Regions from separate parts of the Homo sapiens genome. Here regions 1, 2 and 3 are each linked to region 4. Evidence: promoter capture Hi-C in 16 types of primary human blood cells and fetal thymus (Javierre and others, 2016). All regions are on one chromosome and are shown on one strand. Each heading gives the region's core, a stretch centred on a gene start or on the middle of the fragment in contact. The rest is flanking DNA. Distances are from core to core; before and after follow the strand shown. Region 1 has its middle 3.2 kb from the start of TWIST1. Region 2 has its middle 15 kb from the start of TWIST1. Region 3 has its middle 5.4 kb from the start of POLR1F. Region 4 holds the start of SP8 (Sp8 transcription factor).

Region 1 (2,700 bases), core at 194-2,693, 1.7 Mb before region 4:
GCAGTTCTCAAAACAGTCACCCCTGCACCCTTGCGTTTGCATCTTCCGCTACAGGATTTTATCTCTTGGAAGCGCTTAGAGAATGCGGCAGAAATTCTGCCCCACTCTCCACCAAGTGTTCTTTTTGTAAATCTGAATTTACAGTATTCTGCAATTCTTATTTAGAACGTGGCTGCAGAAATCTCGAAACCTTTTCCACTTCAGCTATTTTTTTAAAGATAAATCTTATTTTTGTTTTGTTCTTTTTTTCTCTTTTCTCAAAAATAAATAAAGAGATCGAATGATTGGACTCTTTCCTTTGTGGCCACGGATAAGTAAGACAGGAAAGTGTGGGTAAAGTGTAAAGGAAATCTTACCTGACCAAGGGGAATTTGGGAAGGGGAGGGGAGCGGACAAGCTAGAGGAGAAACCAAGTCCACAGCAGCGCAGCAGCCAGGGGTCATTAGCCAGTCCATCTTGCAAAGTCATCAGTCTCAAAGACTGGTTCTTAAACAAGTGAGCCCAGCCCTTTTCCCGGCACTAAACTTCTAGCTGATGAAGAGCTCCTGGCCATTGGGTACAGGGATCCCCGCAAGGCTCAGGCGACGCTCTGATGCCAGAATACTGAGAGGGGAATTCAAAATGAACACCTAACCAGAACCATCCTGCCCATGGACTCTTTCAGCCACAGTCACAATTGATGACTAGTTCTAAGAAGAAATGGCTCTTGAACTGTTCCGGGGAGTGGAGGATGAGACGACTTTTGAGTTCTTAAGTGGGGCTTGAATGTTACTTTTGGAGCAAAAGTAGTCCAGGAGGTACCTCTCAAAAAATGGCTGGAGCTAGATACTCCCTGCTTTGCAAACTGCAACACGCCCTGGCTGACGAGTCCAGTCTGCTCATATACAGCTCTTTCTTATCTAACATTTTACCTAACAATTTTCTTTTCCACATTTGCAAGGATGGCTCCCTTTTTACTTGTTGACAGGTCAGGTATAATTCTGGATTCTCTTATATATGCAACAATAATTGCAACTTCTGCAATGTTTAGTTTAAATTTGAAAGCTTCTTTCTAAAATCCCAATCTTGAGATCATGAAAACAATCTTAGAAATTTTCTTTTGAGGCTGAAGTTAGCCTAACTGGAAGTATGTCAGTGGGGACTACCTTCTTTGGGAATGCTAGATTAACTGGAATTCAGTCATTTTGCCTCCTTCTAAAGTAAAGTCCTCCCCAAAAAAATTTAACTGAAAAAAAAAATTTCTTTTGTACTTGGATAGTTCAAAACGATCTTTGTTTTCAAACTGCAAACTTGGCATGTTTGCAATCCTGCCTGAGGAATGTGTGCTGTGTTAAAAATTGAAACAAAAAATACTGTTAAAAGTAACAGAGTTAGAAATCTCACATTGAACATATACAATAAGTATTAAGTATCCTGGCAGTTTGAATATGCTGTGACATTCTCTTAGCAACAACCAATTATAAATACTTTTAGATACGGAAAAGAAACACACACTATAGAATGGTTAGCCAACTGGTAAATTCTGGAGTTTGGGCTTGCATAAAAGGTGAGTACCTCAATCTGTTCCTACTCTTCTTTCTCCTCAGACCTTAGATGGCCTATCACCTGTTTGTTGGCTCCGAGTTCTGAGAAATAATTTATCTGAATTGCATAAATAGTGCACAGGAGCATTCGCACGGAAGGGAGTGAAAATTAGAAAGGCTGCAATTGAGTGAATATCAGATGAGGTTGTATATCTTAGATTTCATCTTGCTTTGAACACTCCAGAGGGACTGCTGTTTAAATGAGAGAATTTTAGTAAGGTGGAATATAAAGTCATGTATGTCAACACAATAACTGTGTAAAAGCTTATTCTTCTTTCATGACCCTGGTAGCCTTAATGATGTTTGAACACCTTTCCCTATATAAAAACTCATTCTCTTTCTCTTTAAATGATGATTTGATTCATAAACTCAACTGATTCTACATTTTTCTATCTGAATATCTTTAAAAGTAAAAAAAACAAACTAAAGTTATAAAATGTGAAGTTTTCAATCCAGAAATAAAACGAAAAAGTAAAAAACACAATAAATTAGGGTGCGAACAGTACCGCAAGTGAAATTTTCAAATAAATGTTAATCTTTAAAATAGCTGACATTCTGAACTCAGCTTAAGGATGGGATGAGGAGACATAGGTCTAACCTGTAGAAAGTGCAGGATCAGAATATGGAAAAGTATGGAGTCTTGAAGAGCATTTTTTTTTTTCATTTTTTTTTTCAGGGGTTGTGCAGGCTGGAGAGTTGGTGTCTTAGCTGCCCATTAACCTTGTTGGAAAACACACTCACTTCACTTGTATCAAAGAGTTGCTGGAATAACTGATGAAAGAATGCAAGAAATAAATAGTTATTCATAGGAACTATTATCATGGTCTCAGTCTTTCTACATAGCATTATGTGTCTTCTTTTTAATCATCCGATGACCAGTAATTTAAATATAAATGGAATGATTTACATTCTATGTTTTTTCAATTCAATTTCTCTTTCTGATTACTCATAACTTTCACCTTTCTTCACTGGAAGGGATTTCCGTTTTTCACAAATGGGTTTTCCTGAAGCCTTATGTCCTGCTGCTATTGTTTGGTTTGGTTCTTTCTGCAGAAAACATGTTGTTTTTGCCAGTCACCACAAGAGGACACAATTTCCCAGATAACTTTGTTTAGAA
Region 2 (2,700 bases), core at 70-2,569, 1.7 Mb before region 4:
TGAAAGGCTTTATGTAAAAATAAAGTGTTGCTACTACCTAGGCAGAGAAAAATGCACACATTTTCTTTCAGCATTCAAGAGACCAATACAGTGGTGCCCTCTGCTCTCCTTTGATTTTTCGTTTGCATTTAGTTTGACGACAATATAGATAAATCCTCCATTTGGTGCCATTGGACCAGGGTTACATTTCAGTATGTGGAAAAATGATGAAATGAAAGAGAAAAGCCTTTGAAAGAAAGTGAAAATAAATGTAATAGCCAAAGCCAAATAATAGTCAGAGTATATTTAAAGTCTATTAAAGAGCAGCAGTCAGGGTATCAAATGCACACTCTTTCATCCTCTGTGGTCAGCCTACTATGTGGACCACCTGCCTTAAATTACACAAGTTCACCGCATCCCTGGAGTGAAGGGGAAGGCAGGAGAAGAATGGGGGTGGAGAAGCAACTTTCTCCATTCATACTAATCACACAAATGGTAAAATCTTTTTAGAATGCCTCTTTTCAATTCACAATCAATTACATTTGAGTCTCTAAACCACCACTCTTGGGTTTGGAATAATGTGTGGATATGTGCAGTAAAAAAGTAACTTGAAGTTTCAGTTTCTCAGCAGATACTGATTGGCATGTACTGTTTAATCATCAGTGATTATGCTGTTTTAGAAGGTGAAAGAACAATGTGGAGCTGTTTATTGCACAGGAATATATGAAAATAGAGCCCTAATTGGCCGAATCAGGAGAAAAGACAGACCCTTCTGGACAGGCTGCTCCAGTTTGGACAAGAATCACATGTGGACAGTATATGTGGAGCTCTCACACGAAACAAATGGAGTTGATTTCACAGACATTACAACACACTAATATGCTAGCCAAATTTCTTATTAGACTTAATACTTATTACTTTCAGAATACTATGGCTGCCACATATGGTTGTGAGGGATGGTCACTGAACAAGGGCACTTGGTCCACAGTGCAAAGGGGCCTGAAATAAGTCCCACTCTGCACAATAAGATATAAGCCCTGAAAAAAAGGGCTCCCTTTACTATTTAGACAGGGAGCTCATATAAGCAAATAGCAACTATGGGCTCCACAGCTATTTTAAATTTAAAACATTTAAAATAAGTGTCTGAATCATAATGTTTCAATAAATGTTTTTGAACATCTTTTTGCTTACCTGGGCTTTTATTCTAAAAATGAAAGATAAGAGTATTAATCCTCCTACCCCGCCCCCCTGCCCATGATAGAATGGGACTGTCAGTATTGTCATTTTTCAGTCATTTCTGCCCAGGTTTTCCTATTGGTATAATGTTGATAATTAGTATATTTAGTTCAAATTAACAAAAATGTCATGTGCCAGGCACAAAGCAAAGTGTTAGAATTACACATCACTAAGCTGGACAGGCATCTGTATACCAAAAACATATAGTCTAATAAGTGACTACTAATCACTTAATTTTTCCTACAGATTGATGAAAAGATAAAATAGCAAATGCAAAAGAGAAAGTTCTTGGGCTCACTTCCATTAGTTCTGTTCTAAAGTTTATACTCTCAGAATGCTTAATGCAGAGGAACTTATTTTCCCTCTCCACTCCTATTCTCCCACAGGTAAGGGGTCTCTAATTTTCTGCACCACCTCAAAATATCAAAGAAAACTGGGGTGTGGTAGCCACCGCAAGGACCTCCAGTGCACATGTAGCTAAACATACACAAGTGAGACCATGCTTCTGCGATTAGAGGCTTCTTCCTTCACTGTCATGAGCATAACATGGTCACTTATGCATAGTCCTTAGATCGTAATCAGAACTCCAAGAAATGTTTGCTGACTGAATAATCTTTCATTTGTTCAACTGAAGGCAGTGTCATAGTGGCCAGCCATGCAGCCTGTCACTTGAAGAAAAGTGCTTGAGGAAGAATGAACATTTCGACATTACTTCTTGCTGATCTACAATTTTAACTCTATTTGTACAGCCAGATAACTGAGTACATGATTTACAGGAATAAATGAGAGTCACCTGTGGCTGTACGTTTGTGTAAGTCCACATACTTTTTACGTAGGTTGTTATATTTATGAATTGTGCTACCTACACTCTGGTTACAGGTTGTTCTTTACATCAATAACTCATGAAAACCCACTAGGAGAGCATGTCAGATATAAGAATGGCACCACAGATCACAGATTGAAAAGACCTCTGGGATCATCTGCACAGAGTAGGAAAAACCACTCATGATCACTCTCCTTTGGTTCTGCCTCATCTGTAATCACTCCATGGGGCAAACTGCACTCCTGGTTTTTCTGACCAACAAACAGTTCTGCACAGGCTAGTTAAATTATCTTTCCGGCCGGGCACGGTGGCTCACGCCTGTAATCCCAGCACTTTGGGAGGCCGAGGTGGGCAGATCACGAGGTCAGGAGATCAAGACCATCCTGGCTAACACGGTGAAACCCCATCTCTACTAAAAATACAAAAAATTAGCCAGGTGTGGTGGCGGGCGCCTGTAGTCCCAGCTATTAGGGACGCTGAGGCAGGAGAATGGCGTGAACCCGGGAGGCAGAGCTTGCAGTGAGCCGAGATCGCGCCACTGCACTCCAGCCTGGACGACAGAGCGAGACTCCGTCTCAAAAAAAAAAAAAAAAAAAAAAAAAAAAAAAAAATTATCTTTCCTTTTCCATCAGTCTTGAATTCATATGAGTATTGTTAGTGGT
Region 3 (2,700 bases), core at 141-2,640, 1.1 Mb before region 4:
CAATGTATGGGGTACATCTGATCTCATGTACTTTGTTCTTTGCCTCAGAGAGGCTCAGAAGCTTCTTCTGTCATATATCAGGGGTATATACGTCCCTAGGAATGCCCACCCTGGATAAAGAGCAATACTAGTACTGACAGGAAGGATTTAATCACACTTATATGACTGTTTATATCAAATTGGTGGAATGAGTGATGAGTGTCAACATCACAATGACCAACATTATCACAGGTAAACTTTACTACAAACCTGCCAGATGCTATGCCAAGTGCCCTAGGTAAATCACTGACAGATAATCTTTATGAATTGATTACACTAATGACATATATTTACAAGCGAGAAGCCTGTATTCTAAAAGAAATGTCAGCCTCATGATGGTAGCTATCCTCTCTGTATTGCTAACAGTCATATGCCCAGGGCCTAATGCATACTCCTTGAGTGAATGAACCAATGACTTTCCCAAGAATACCCAGCGATTTATCAATAAAGGAATCTAACCCAGGCATGAGTTATCCCATAATTTATGCTTTGAATCACTAAAGATCCTCACTTTTTCTATGTCTATATCAAAAACTGATGAAGAAGGAAATTGTAAAAATTGATGGTTTATTTTATTTAGTCTCTGCCTAGAAAAGTGCTAAGGTAAGATATTTGACCAAATTGGTAAATATTAACATTTTAGTAGGATTGGAAAGGTGTCAAACAAGCACCAGTTTTAGCCGAAATATATATAATACAGGGTATATCAACCAAATGTTTGTTGATGCAGACCACTTGTGTTTCACAAATTTGCCAGCAGATGGCAAAAATGAGCTTAAATTTGTAAAGTTTTGCTTTAGCTTAAGGACTGTAGAAATGACAAAAGTGAAGGGAAACTTTATTGATGGCTTGTTTTTATCTACAATCCTTCTTCAACAGAGAACTTAGGATAAATTTTTGACTCTGAAGGCTCCTTCTACTTGCTTGTTAGATTGTTGACACTACATGATACACATGTGCCTAAAGAGAATGAGGAAATATATTAACAGAGCACATTATATTACATACACACACACACACACACACACACACACACACACACACACACACACACATATCGTTTAAACCTGAGCTTTGAAATATGGACCTAAATAAAGTCATGCCAATTTTTTAGCTCCTGATGTTACAATTATCTATCTAGGTAAAAGCCAAGAAGGCAACTGCCTAGCACTTTGGATGAAAGATGTCAGCTAGAAAGGATTAGCTTAAATAATAAAATAAATTTGAGGTGTGTGAGTGTGTACGAGTCTGCGTACATGTAGATGTGAGCACTGATGACTGCTTCTAGAGGTTGGGAAGAGGTAAACAAGGTATCTCAAGGGGGTGAGTCTACTTTAGGAGGACAAGATGCCATCTGTATTTATTGTCCTCTTACAAAAACTAGTGTTAGTATTTCTTCTAAGCCCTATTTCCTCTCTAATCAGACCTTTCTGCAATCAAATTTCAACATCCTCCTTTCAAGTTTTTCAAATCCAGTGAATTAAGCTAATACAATTGGCTGTGATGCTTGCAAGGGTGACTGTGGAAATTCTCATTTACTTCCACCTGTCTTTTGCTCAGTGCAGAATAGAAATAGAAAACAGTTTTCTTTTTTATATTTTGAAGATTACTTTAATGCTGTAGTTTAATAAAGCACTTGCTGACTGCAGAAACTGTGTAGATGTGAACTCCAAGATTCTTGACATTAAATAGTTCCGAAGAATGTGGTACGGAAAGTTTGAGGGTGGTAATTAAAAAAATGAAATTTAGATGCAGTGCCTTTTGATACACAATTTACTCTGAAGTGCCCAAACACAATTTATATTAATGTATCATATTCTAGACTTCCCGTTACAGCTACAGGGTGCTTAATACACCTATGCTTTGGAAATTATTATAGTTATGAATTTATCGTTGTCCAATGGCAAAGTGAACTTGCCCAGTTGTGAAAAATGCCCTGCAGGAATTTACAAATTAAGTCATTACTTTAAGGCCACAGTTGTTAGTAAAATATCTGAAAGTCCAAAATTTGCACTGAGTAGGATAGACTAATGAATAAAATGAAAGACTAATGAATAAAAGAAAGCTACTCGATTTCTTTGTGTCTCACTTTGCCTTGATATTCTTTGTTGTGATTCCTGTTTTCTTGTACCATATTGGCTTTAGGGTGATACTGACAGTATTAACTCCGCTTGAAAAAAACCTTTTCTCCTGAAATCTTTGGCACAGTCGAATAGACTAAACTGGATGTTTAAAAGTAGGACAAAAAAAACACCAGAGCCTACCAGAAATGAACATATCTTTAATATAAGGGCATAATTTTTTTCATGACCAAATTAGTTTTCTCTATAGCCTACAGGTCCAAGCACCTTATCAATAAAGCCTAGGGGAAAAGTGATCTTGTTTCCGTTTCTGTTACAGCTTTCTGCCTGTCTCCAATGACCTCCTAGATTTTCCATCCTCTTTATATTCAAGGTTTATGGAGCTCAAGTTTTCTTTCAGTTGGCTGAAATCCTTTCTTTGAATTCCTATTTTCAATATGTGTACATACTTGCTGGCCAGGTGACTAAAACAGTCGCTTCTCTCACTAGCTGCTGCTGCCTCAGTGACTAAAGCTGGATTTCAATTGGCTGATTCAGGAGTAGGGAGTTTTGTTAAACAAACTCAAGTGCCTAGAGTGAA
Region 4 (2,700 bases), core at 167-2,666:
AAGGCGCTGGAGCCAGGCGAGCCGCCGCAGCTGAACGAGTCGGACACCAGGGCCGCGGCAGCCGCGGCTGCTGCCGCGGCCGCCGCAGCCGCCGAGGACGAGCCGCCGTTCCTGGAGGCCCCGGACACGCCGAAGCTTGAGAGACTGGAACCCACTACGTTGCAGCTGGCGGAAGAAGAGGACGAGGAGCGTTTCCAGGGGTGGAAGCCTTTGCCGAAGGAAGAAGAGCTGTCCGAGAGGGAGGAGGGAGACGGGCTGGGGCTGCCTATCTTATTACAGGTAGCGGCAAGCATGGCCAGAGGAGTCGATCCCAACCTCGGTTCTTCCTGCGAGGAGGAGAGGAGAAGGAGTGGGGGAGGGGAGGTGGGCAAAGGGCCGGTGGGGGAGGAAAGGAAGAAATGTGCATCAGTCCTTCGGTAGCCTCCAAAGCGCCCCACTGCACCCCATCTCTCGCTGCGGCGCGCCGCCACCAACTCACCTGGCACCCCCAACAGCCCCGGCGCCCGGCCGCTTCCTACTCTACAGGAGGGGACAAGTTTGGCTGCCGGCGTCTGATTCGGGAGCAAGCACCACGCTAAAGAAGAGTTTGACAAGTATTCTCACCTAAAACAACACTCTCTTGCACACAAAGCCCCAGACACTTCGTAACAAACAAGCAAAAAGTCCAGATTGGAGAGGAAGGAAGTTTTCTTTGCCGAGAAGCCTGGGGGAAAACCATTGGATTGCTTTTAAGAGCGCTTCCCTGTAATCCGGAGAGCTTTGAAAAACCTGTTCGGGTCCCCAGAAACCCATCCTGGGTTGTTTCTCCCAGGCCAAAAGAAATCAAACTGTAGGGCTCACTCTTTCTTCCTGCTTTTCTTTCTTTCTTTTTTTAAAAGCATATCTACAGTAGTAAAAACGAGACGAGTTCAACGTACCTGCGAGACAAGGCGGGCTGCAGAATTTTTTTTTAAGGGTTAGGGGAAGAATCTGCACTTTGCCCAGAAGGAAAAACTTGCTCTCTTTACCCCCGAAATCGGTGCCTGTAAAATGGGCTGGACGCAGGTCTCCCGGGCAGGGAGCAGCGAGGCGCTGCGCGGTGGCTTGTCTAAATGCCCTTCGAACCTTTTCCTGCGCTGAAAAAAAGTGACTCTGCCCCCTTCTCCCCCTTTTTCTTTTCTCCAAACTCACTTGTATTTAAAGAAAAAAAAAAAAAGCTCTCAATAGAGAGACTGATAGCCCGTGGCCTGGCCGGGGCGACTTTAACCCCCTCCAATCGGCAATAAAAGGAAACTAATTAAACCAGCAAGAGAAAATCCTGAGACTCACCCCTAGAAGTGAAGTTGCCATCACACAAAAGTGCCCTCCTCCTCTCAGAGGATCTTTTTTATATTGATAAATCAGAGGCAGTGTTTTTTTTAGAGGTGTGCAATACAATGATCAGTTCCGCCCATTCCACCACAATTGTAGCTCCCTCTCCGGCTTTGAAGTGCCGCGGAGGCGCGGCCAGCCAATCTGCGGCCTCGCCGGGCCGCGCGGCGCGCGCGCCGTGAGGTCATCGGCGCCGCCGCCTGCCGCCGTGGTGGAAGGGGGAGTGGGAGCGGAGGGGGCGGGGGCGGCTGCGTGTGTTACAAAGCGCAAAGCGCGCGCTCGCGTGTATGAGTGTGTGTGTAACAATGTAACTGTGTGCGAGTGTGACCAGGCGTAGGAGAGGACAGTGCGGAGACTGGAGGGAGGGGGGATGGGGGTGTGACACCGTAACAGTGACAGTGTGGTAAAGGCGGGGAGTGGAGAGAGTGCAGAAAAGGGAGGGTTGTGTGATAAGATAACTGCGTGTGCGACAAAGCGGGGTAGAGGGACAGAGCAGTTAAGTGTTGGGAAGGGTGTGAGTGTACGGTAGTGTAACTGACAAACCTAGGGAGGGAAGAGGGACTCAACTGGGTGGGGGGTGAGTGTGTTTGGTGTTGGGGGAGAAGGAGGGCTGTGAACATGTGTATTTGTGCGACAGAGAAGAGGGAAGGGTGTGTGTGGGCGCTTGTGTTGTGTGCGCGCACCAAAGCTGGTAGTGGGGAATGGGAACAATGCAATAAAGTGTGTGTTTGTAAGAGAGAGACTGTCGAGCTGAAGAGAGAAACCGACTAAGTTGATGGAGGCTGAGTGAATAAATATTCACAAACGCTGCCCCTGTCGCCAACTTCCTTTGGCTCCTTGTACCTAAAATCTTGAGTGATTTTTTTTTCTTAACTTGGTAAACAGCGTCACTACATTTTTGAAGAAGATCTTTAAACCCACCTTTTCTTTCCCGGCTCTCCAACGAAATAGTAGAAAGGTTGAGAGGCTAAGGGTTATTTTTAGGGATGCGTTGGGACGTGGATGCGCGCCTGCGCGCCCATGAGTTGTTTCTTTGATGCCGTGGCTTTTTTTTTTTTTTTTTTTTTTTTTTTCCCTGAGGTGGAATTCTGCTTTAGAAGTGCACGTCTCACTCTAGGGGAGGAGGTGTGTGTGTCCCGTGGTGTTGAGTAAATTTCAATACAAAAGGATTAGATAGAGAAGAGAGTAAGCGAGGGTCGTTTTTTCTTTGGGTAAGAAATTGAAGAGCGTTTTACGGAATTTAGAAATTTTCACAGAAAACCTCACTGCCTCTTTCTGAGAAAAGAATCAGGACTTTGATCGAAATATATGGGTTCTATTTATCTAAGAATAGAGAGGAGCTTTTGACAA

What was found. The method cuts DNA at HindIII sites, captures the fragments that hold promoters and counts their contacts. A CHiCAGO score of 5 or more calls a contact.
Region 1: a fragment that was not itself captured here is called in contact with the fragment with the promoter of SP8 in region 4 in 1 of 17 cell types (naive B cells); the score reaches 6.9 in naive B cells.
Region 2: a fragment that was not itself captured here is called in contact with the fragment with the promoter of SP8 in region 4 in 1 of 17 cell types (naive B cells); the score reaches 5.7 in naive B cells.
Region 3: a contact is called between a fragment that was not itself captured here and the fragment with the promoter of SP8 in region 4, in 1 of 17 cell types (monocytes). The highest score is 7.2, in monocytes.

What each region holds. Positions count from the first base shown.
Region 1 is chr7:19,119,522-19,122,221 of GRCh38, forward strand. No RefSeq gene overlaps it. Among named protein-coding and RNA genes, the nearest start is that of TWIST1, 3.2 kb to the left of the region's middle. RefSeq lists an enhancer at 1-125. The HindIII fragment of the contact is 803 bases long and covers 1,043-1,845 here.
Region 2 is chr7:19,101,301-19,104,000 of GRCh38, forward strand. No RefSeq gene overlaps it. Among named protein-coding and RNA genes, the nearest start is that of TWIST1, 15 kb to the right of the region's middle. The HindIII fragment of the contact is 6,208 bases long and covers 1-2,700 here.
Region 3 is chr7:19,713,069-19,715,768 of GRCh38, forward strand. No RefSeq gene overlaps it. Among named protein-coding and RNA genes, the nearest start is that of POLR1F, 5.4 kb to the left of the region's middle. The HindIII fragment of the contact is 2,662 bases long and covers 60-2,700 here.
Region 4 is chr7:20,785,470-20,788,169 of GRCh38, forward strand. It overlaps SP8 (Sp8 transcription factor), which reads right to left and starts at 1,417. Exons shown (of 2, transcript NM_182700.6): 1 at 1,309-1,417; 2 at 1-326. The coding sequence starts at 1,329. The HindIII fragment of the contact is 6,810 bases long and covers 134-2,700 here.